2 separate regions of the Homo sapiens genome follow, and region 1 is linked to region 2. Evidence: promoter capture Hi-C in 16 types of primary human blood cells and fetal thymus (Javierre and others, 2016). All regions are on one chromosome and are shown on one strand. Each heading gives the region's core, a stretch centred on a gene start or on the middle of the fragment in contact. The rest is flanking DNA. Distances are from core to core; before and after follow the strand shown. Region 1 holds the start of MORC2 (MORC family CW-type zinc finger 2). Region 2 holds the start of PLA2G3 (phospholipase A2 group III).

Region 1 (3,802 bases), core at 1-2,500, 170 kb before region 2:
TGTTGGATTCCTATAAACACTTGAATGAAACAACTCAACATATTGACTTCAAATAACTAAAGTTTGCATTTAGAAAATTTTGATCCAATAAACAAAAATCAGATTCTTCTGGATTAGCAACAAGTATTTCACTGATCTCAGTTCTTCAATACAGAGCTCAAGATATCCAGTGACACATTTCACTCCAGTGGGATACATCTCAAAAAGTGAAAAAGCAAAATTTTCTGGGGAAACGATTTCCATATAATATCAAGGAACGAGTTACTGGTTACCTCAGTGGCACCTAGAGGATACTTACGAATTTGTGTGCAGATATTCAAAGGTTAGCTGAGCTCGATTCAGACTGCTGTAATTTGTGAAAGCCATGACTGCAATAAGGTCTCCAGCCCTTCACCCGCTAACTGGGAAATATAACCTTATAATGATATCGATTTCCCAGGATTCTGTCCAGTAAAGCTTCAGTAAGTCTGTGCTCCTTAATGACAGTTAAAGTAACCTAGTAGCTATCCAAAATATATGCAGAGATGTTTAAAACTACAATTTCTTCAAGTGTTTTTTTTTAATCTTCTCAATGATTTATGATGTAATATTTTGGAAGGAACTATGTCATAAATCTGTAGCTTTAAGGAGCTTTTAGCATTAAGTTGCGATAGCTCAATTCAGACAATCTGAGTCTCGTGTGGATGGTCCTGAAGGAGATGGTCCTTGAGTGGGTGGTTTATGACTGCTCCATCTTCATGTTCTTCCAGCCTTTTTTGGTTCCCCGAAATTTCCTGTCAGGAAATTTACCAACGCGGAAATTTACCCACTTCTGTCAGAAAACTGATCAGCCATGTCTTCGCCACACGTGATGCCAGGATTCTTAAACAGGCCCAAGACCGGAGACCAAGATGTCGACGGAGTGTTATATGGCGCAAGTTGCAGCTTCACCACCTCCCAAGTGAAAAAGCTCCTAGGCACTCACGATTTCTTTTTTCAAAGCCGGACCAAACCCAGTTCAGGGTGGTGGTCAGATTACCTCACACTTGGCCCACATAAACACCTCACAAATGACCCGCCCACAGCACCTCGGGCAGGCCGCGCCCCGCCCCCACGTCCCTCAGACAACAGCCTCAGCCTCCCAGGCCCTTCCCGGGCCTCGGTCCCGTGGCCGCCTCCCCACGAAGAGGAGCTACTCCCGGCTTCCAAGGACCGGATCGAGGGCAGTGGCGAGCGCACCACCTGACCGGGCACTACCCGGATCTCACAACTGCCTTTGTCCCTCCCCGCGGAATTGGAACCCAACAGCCGCAGAGCGCTCTTGGAACCATGTGCTGCTGCCGCCTCCGCCGCCGCCGCCGCTGCCTCCGCCGCCGCCCGCGCGCCGCCCGCGCGCCGCGCTAGTTGAGATGGTGACAGGATTCAGCAACACGAAATTCGGCGTTTAGAGCTGCTCTGCCGCCGCCGTCACAGACACCACAGCCACCGCTTTGTCTCCGATAGTGCACACAGCCCCGGCCACCTCGCACACTCCCCGACGCCCCAAGCCCCCGAGGCCTCCGCGGAGCATTCAGCCAATCACAAAGCTGCAGCTCCTCCCGCCCCCGCCCTGATGTACAGCCTCCTGATTGGCGGGCTGCGTGTCCCCATGTGACCGGATCTTGGTTGGCCGGTCCCGCCCCTGTCACGTGACAGCGTGCGCCTCTCTTCCTGCTTTCCTGACCCTCTCCGCCATTTAAAGAAACAGTACCGGGGGCGGGCCGAGCGACGCAGCCGGGACGGTAGCTGCGGTGCGGACCGGAGGAGCCATCTTGTCTCGTCGCCGGGGAGTCAGGCCCCTAAATCGAAGAAGCCCTGGCGCGCCCTCCCCCCCTCCCGGGTCTGGTAGGGCGAAGGAACGGGCGTGCGGTCGATCGAGCGATCGGTTGGCGGCTCTTTCTCCTGCTCTGGCATCCAGCTCTTGGGGCGCAGGCCCGGCCGCCGCGGCGCGCGCCCGGTGGCCGTTGGCGCTCGCGCCGCGTCTTTCTTCTCGTACGCAGAACTCGGGCGGCGGCCTATGCGTTTGCGATTCGACGAGGAGTCGTCCGGGTGGTCGGCGGCGGCGGGCAGCTGCTCCGCCCCGCTCCGGGGGAGGCGGCGGCGGCAGCGGCCGCGGGATTTGGAGCGGCCGGGGAGGCGGGGGTGGCCGGGGCCGGCTTGGAGGCCTGGCGCCACCCTTCGGGGCCTGCAAGGACCCAGTTGGGGGGGCAGGAGGGGGCCGGAGGATGGTTGGTTGTGGGATTTCTACTTTGCCTTTTCCTCCTTATGCCGCCTTAGTGAGGGGCGGGAGCTCTGGCGGCAGCCCCGGGGTGGGGAGACGAGCTCCGGAGTCGGAAGAGCTGGGTTTTCTTCCGGGCCTAGCCACCAGTTGGCGGAGTGACCTTAGGCGAGTCACTCTGTAATTTGTCTGCGCCTCAGTTTCCTCCTCTGCCTATCAATGTGTGTGGGGTTGAAATCGCTTTGTAAACTATAAAGCGTGGGTGTACGTAAAGGATGGTTATTGTTTATAATTTTTTTTGAGTTGTAAGAAAACTTAGCAGTTCCCCAATCCTTGGGTTTTGAACCTGGGAACCTTGGATTGGAGTTGGGGATCCCCAAACTTCCTGAAATTGTGGGAATGTGCGGTTTGGGGGAATGATGGGAATTTGTGGGAATGTGCGTTTTAGGGGAATGATGATCCATCGCTAGCAAGTTTTCCAAGGGGGCTGTGACCCAGAAGAGTTAAGAATCACAATTTCTTCATGCTACAGAGAGGAAACTGAGGCCTAGATGTCATTTGGGACCCTTCACAACCATTTTGAAGCCCTGTTTGAGTCCCTGGGATATGTGAGCTGTTTCTATGCATAATGGATATTCGGGGTTAACAACAGTCCCCTGCTTGGCTTCTATTCTGAATCCTTTTCTTTCACCATGGGGTGCCTGAAGGGTGGCTGATGCATATGGTACAATGGCACCCAGTGTAAAGCAGCTACAATTAGGAGTGGATGTGTTCTGTAGCATCCTATTTAAATAAGCCTATTTTATCCTTTGGCCCGTCAACTCTGTTATCTGCTGCTTGTACTGGTGCCTGTACTTTTCTGACTCTCATTGACCATATTCCACGACCATGGTTGTCATCCATTACTTGATCCTACTTTACATGTCTAGGCTGTGTGGTTGGTGGTGAATAGGCTTCTTTTTACATGGTGCTGCCAGCCCAGCTAATTAATGGTGCACGTGGACTTTTAGCAAGCGGGCTCACTGGAAGAGACTGAACCTGGCATGGAATTCCTGAAGATGTTTGGGGTTTTTTTCTTTCTTAATCGAAAGTTAACATTGTCTGAAAAGTTTTGTTAGAACTACTGCGGAACCTCAAAATCAGTAGATTTGGAAGTGATTCAAAGCTAAACTTTTTCCTTGGCCCTCCTTGTGTTCTAATTGCTTGCAAGTGTAATACTAGGATGTCCAAGATGCCAGTTTTTGCTTCTTTGTTAGTTGTCAGCTGCTTTTATCAAATTTCAGGCCATTATCCAACAAACACTATAAAAATGTTTGAACAATTGGATTTCAAACATTTTCGTTTTGTGGAGTGGTGCTCACCAAGTGGTACAGCCCTAAGCAAGTGAACACAAACACATTTAAGTGTATTTTGTCTGATTAGATGTTAGCCAGTTATGCTATTTCATTCAAATGTCTGAAAAAATCAATTGACTATTCCCTTTTCCTAAAGGGCAGAGACAGATAATCTCACTTCCAGAGAAATGACTTGGAGAAAAAAAAGTGTTGGTCTTTTTGCTCTTTTGTA
Region 2 (4,018 bases), core at 116-2,615:
TGATGGAATGGCAAACAGGCAGGGTGCAACCTTTCTCACTGGCACAAGGAGGTGTCGCCAGGATGCCAACCTACTCTGACTCAGGTGCCAAGCCCTCCCCCAACCCTGCACACAAACGCACAGACATCTGTACTGATAGTGCAAGAAATTCATCTATGTTTATTACCATCTAAAAAATAGCACTCTTTACTAAGCATTTCCCACATGCCTGGCACTTCCCACATCCAGGTTCACAGCCAGCCCTGAAAGGGAGGTATCACCTTCATTTTACAGGTGAGGAAATAAGTCCAGAGAGGGGAAGTGACTTGCTCAGCTTGTATGTGCTGAGTTGGGATTTGAACCCAGGCCTTTCGTCTCAGCATCCATTCCACTGGGCACCCCGTGCCCACAAAGCCTCCTCCTGGGTAATGGCTTTTTGGCTCAGTTGACCCTGGATCCTCCCCCAGCCTGCCCAGTCCCTCGGATGGCATTTAATGAGGACTCCCAGGTTTGAATAAGACTTTCCCCAACCGTGACCTCATTTAAGCACCCCATGATGAGATTCGTGATTGCCCCCACTTTACAGATAAGGAAATTGAGGTTCACCATGGTCAAGTCACTCCCCCAGGGACACACAGCCTAGGAGAGTAAGGGCTGGGGCTGAAGAAACCTTGCTTCCCCGATCGGACCCCCCAGCCCACACACCCCTCATGGCTCACCCAGCTCCGAGGAGTTCCCAGCAGAATCTCCAACTCCACACCACAGTGTGCCAGGCATGGTCCATCCTCTCTTCTCTCGCTGGTGCCCTCCACCAGGGACTCCACTCTGCCCTGCTGCTCGCTTCTTCCTGGCCCCTGCTGGACTCTCCTCAAGCGCTCGGCATGCCTCCCACTGACTCTGAAGAGTGGCCAGTGCTCTCTGCAGCTCGGGTCCGGGGGTGTGGATGAAGGAGCCCCAGGCAGTCTCATGAGCACAGAGAGCACCGTAGGCTGCGGTGAGCTCCGGCTCATCCTCCCAGCTACATGACTGCAGCCTCCTATGCGCATCCCAGCGGGCATGGATCAGGGCCAGTCCCTGAGCATCCTTGGCCAGGAAGCTCAGGTACCCCAGTGGGTTGCCAGGGACGGCCTTGGTCAAGTGGCAGGAGGTCCTGTACCAGCGGAGGGCAGGGGAGCCCCCCAGGGCCACCCCCAGGAAGCCCAGCATCCCAAACAGCCCTGCCTGAACCCCCATTCTGCACTGGCCCAGTCCAGTCAGACAAAGCCCCTGGGATGCCTGCCCTTGGTGGCCCCACCAGGCGGCAGCTGAGCAGTGGAACGGAAGCGGAGCCCAGCAGGCCCGGTGCGGCGGGACCAATGAATGGAGCTGCGGGAGGAGGAGGAAAGAGGCTGGAGTATGGGGTGATCTTGGGCTTGTAACCGAATCCACCAGCCGGGCAGGACGCTGATTGGCTGAGGAGTGCACTTGCCAGGGCCCACGCCCCCATTCTGCCTGCCTTCTCAGCACCATCCAGTCACCTGCTGCCAGCCCTGCCTAGATTGGGACTATGGGAGCCAAAGCCCTAAGCTGTGGGATGGGGACCAGGCTGGGGCTTTCACATCTCCTTGAAGGGAAGGAAAAGGGTTCAGGAGCTTGGAGGAGTCCCTTAGAACCCACCCTTCTCACCCTTACCACAGCGGTGGCTGCCACATCCACCTCCATCAGGCTGGCAGGGGGCCATGGGCCTCTGCCAGGGCTGGGTGAAGGAAGGGCTGGGGCTCTGAAGCTACCACCCTGGGAGTTCCCAAGGCTTCTGGGAAAGGGAGTGCCACCTGGGGTGCTCCCCTGCCAAGTCCTGGTTCTTAGAAAGGCTCTCGGCATACTCAGGGGACAGAGCCCCAGGGCTCCCCGCTTCCTAGGACTCCAAGCATGGGCCTGGCCTTGCAGCAACCCTCCTGGTCTGATAACTGGGGGAGACGCAGCGGGAACAGGCCTTGAGAGCCACACAGGGCAGGGCTGATGCTCTGGATTTGAAAGAACTATGGTCCCTAGAGTGGCAGAGAGTGGCCCAGGGTGTATGTCTGTGGCCACCTCCATCCCTGGCCACCTGGGGGGACACAGCAGGCATCATGTGTGCCTCATGAGACAGGAATCTCTCCATCAGGAAGGGGCTATACCCAGGTATTGTTCCTGGATCCCAAAGCCCAGCTTCCAACCATCTAGTGAGGCCAGGGTGCTTACACCCATAGTGCAGATGAAGAAACTGAGGCTCAGTGAGGGTGGGAAAACCTCAGGTGACAGGCTCCAGCTGGGGAGGGCTTAGAGGATGGGAATGCAGCGCTTGGGGATCTGGATGGGAGTCAGGGCTGGCCAGGACAGTGACTTGTCTGTCTTCCATCTGCCCATTAGCCTGCTGCTTCTCCAGCCTCCCCCTGCCCCAGGCTCCATCTGAGTCTCTTCCAGGGGATGAGCCCCAGTGAGGTAAAGCCAGGGGCAGAGCTGGGGAAGGAGAGCTCACTGTGTGGCAGAGGGGGAAGGGGGCTGCAGGGTGGGCAGGTCCATCTCTGTAGCTTCAGAACCAGCCTGGGCCTGTGGCTCAAAGCATCATAGCTGGGAACAATGAAGAGAAGGGAAAGAGGGTAGGGCTAGTCCAGGGACCAAGCGCCTTCTTGCCAGAGGTTGAGAAAGGGGGTGTGGAATACAGCGAGTGGTGGCAGAGGAGGTAGACCTGGGGTCCCCAAGGGCAAGGATGTAGCTGAACAAAGGTGAGTCCTTCTGTGAAGAGTTGTGATGTTTGAAAAATCATCATGCTGAGACTTCCTCCCATCATAGGAACTGCCACCCACCTCTGCCCCCTTTTCCACATTGCTGAGCCCTTCCCTGCCCATCACCTGGGGAGGCTGGGAGGTAGGATACGAGGAGCCAAGCTTTCGAGGTCAGACAGGTCCAGCTTAGGTTTCCACACAGACCCTAGGCTTGGAAATCTTAACTTCTCTGAGTCTTAGTTTCCTCATCTGTATCATGGGCATAATCACAGTAGTCACTCCACAGGATGTTGGGTAAGATTCCCAGCACAGTTCCTGGCACCCAAAACACCATCACTAAAGCCTCAGGATACCCCTGGCCAGGAAGCAGTTTACTCAGGAGAAAGCAAGTCCCAAGATTTTGGGGCCACAGCATCTGTGATATCTGAGAGCTCGGGCTAGATGGCAACTGTGGGAACAGTGGCCAGGACACTACCTGCCTGGGTCACTCCAGGCTTGTCCCTGTCCCTTTCTGGGACTCAGTTTCCCCCACTGTACAGTGAGAAGTACAGTGGAGTTGAACTTTGAGGTCTTTTCCAGTCTGGGTCTCAAAGAACATCAGGCTGGGGCTTGCCCAGGCCTCGAGGGAGGGTGTCACTGAGCTTTCTGTCCAGACTCCACCCAAAAACAAGTCAGTCAGCCACAAGACAGGCTCAGAGTCCTGCCTTCCACCAGGGTGTCCCTCAGAGGCCCTGGAGCAGAGGGGCCAAACCAGCGAGACAGGAAGGCCTGGGTCCTGCAGACGGAAGAGGGTCTGAGGCTTTTCTCTGGCCCTCCACCTGTCTGGGTGAGGCAGGGTGCATAGTGGGTGCCAGTGGGGAGTAGGGGTGGGGGTTCATGAGAGAAGGAGGGGCAGGGCCTCTCCTTCTTCCCTGTGTGATCGTCTATCCCTGTCTCTCACCATCCTTCCCCATACACAAACCCCCAAACCCCGTGTGCCCTGCCCTTTCCCATTCATGTTTTCCCAGACATGACTTCACCTGAAGCTCACTACCCCTGCCTCTCCCTAGGGAGACAGGCAGGGTGGGGCTTCTCATCCCATAGTCCCATAGAGGTATGGAGTAAGGCCCAAGAAAAGGAGTGACTTGCTCACCCAGCAGATCCAGAGAGAAGCCAGCTTCGACTTCCCCTGGCATGTGAGGAAGGCCTCCCTGGGATCTGGGAGTCTCTTGGCTCTCCCACAGCCTCCTAGCCTCAGGCCTTCCTTCCCCAGTCGCCTGAAGGGTGCCTTCCTTCTGGCCCATGGAGCTGGCACT

The links. The method cuts DNA at HindIII sites, captures the fragments that hold promoters and counts their contacts. A CHiCAGO score of 5 or more calls a contact.
Region 1: a contact is called between the fragment with the promoter of MORC2 here and the fragment with the promoter of PLA2G3 in region 2, in 1 of 17 cell types (endothelial precursors). The highest score is 5.0, in endothelial precursors.

What each region holds. Positions count from the first base shown.
Region 1 is chr22:30,967,524-30,971,325 of GRCh38, forward strand. MORC2 (MORC family CW-type zinc finger 2) reads right to left here and starts at 1,251. Exons shown (of 26, transcript NM_001303256.3): 1 at 299-1,251. The coding sequence starts at 366. It overlaps TUG1 (taurine up-regulated 1), which reads left to right and starts at 1,742. Exons shown (of 3, transcript NM_001396518.1): 1 at 1,742-3,802. The coding sequence starts at 1,834. The coding sequence ends at 2,295. RefSeq lists an enhancer at 1,653-1,982 and a silencer at 2,013-2,262. The HindIII fragment of the contact is 3,441 bases long and covers 455-3,802 here.
Region 2 is chr22:31,139,143-31,143,160 of GRCh38, forward strand. PLA2G3 (phospholipase A2 group III) reads right to left here and starts at 1,366. Exons shown (of 7, transcript NM_015715.5): 1 at 699-1,366. The coding sequence starts at 1,212. RefSeq lists enhancers at 870-1,428, 1,429-1,988. The HindIII fragment of the contact is 15,707 bases long and covers 1-2,883 here.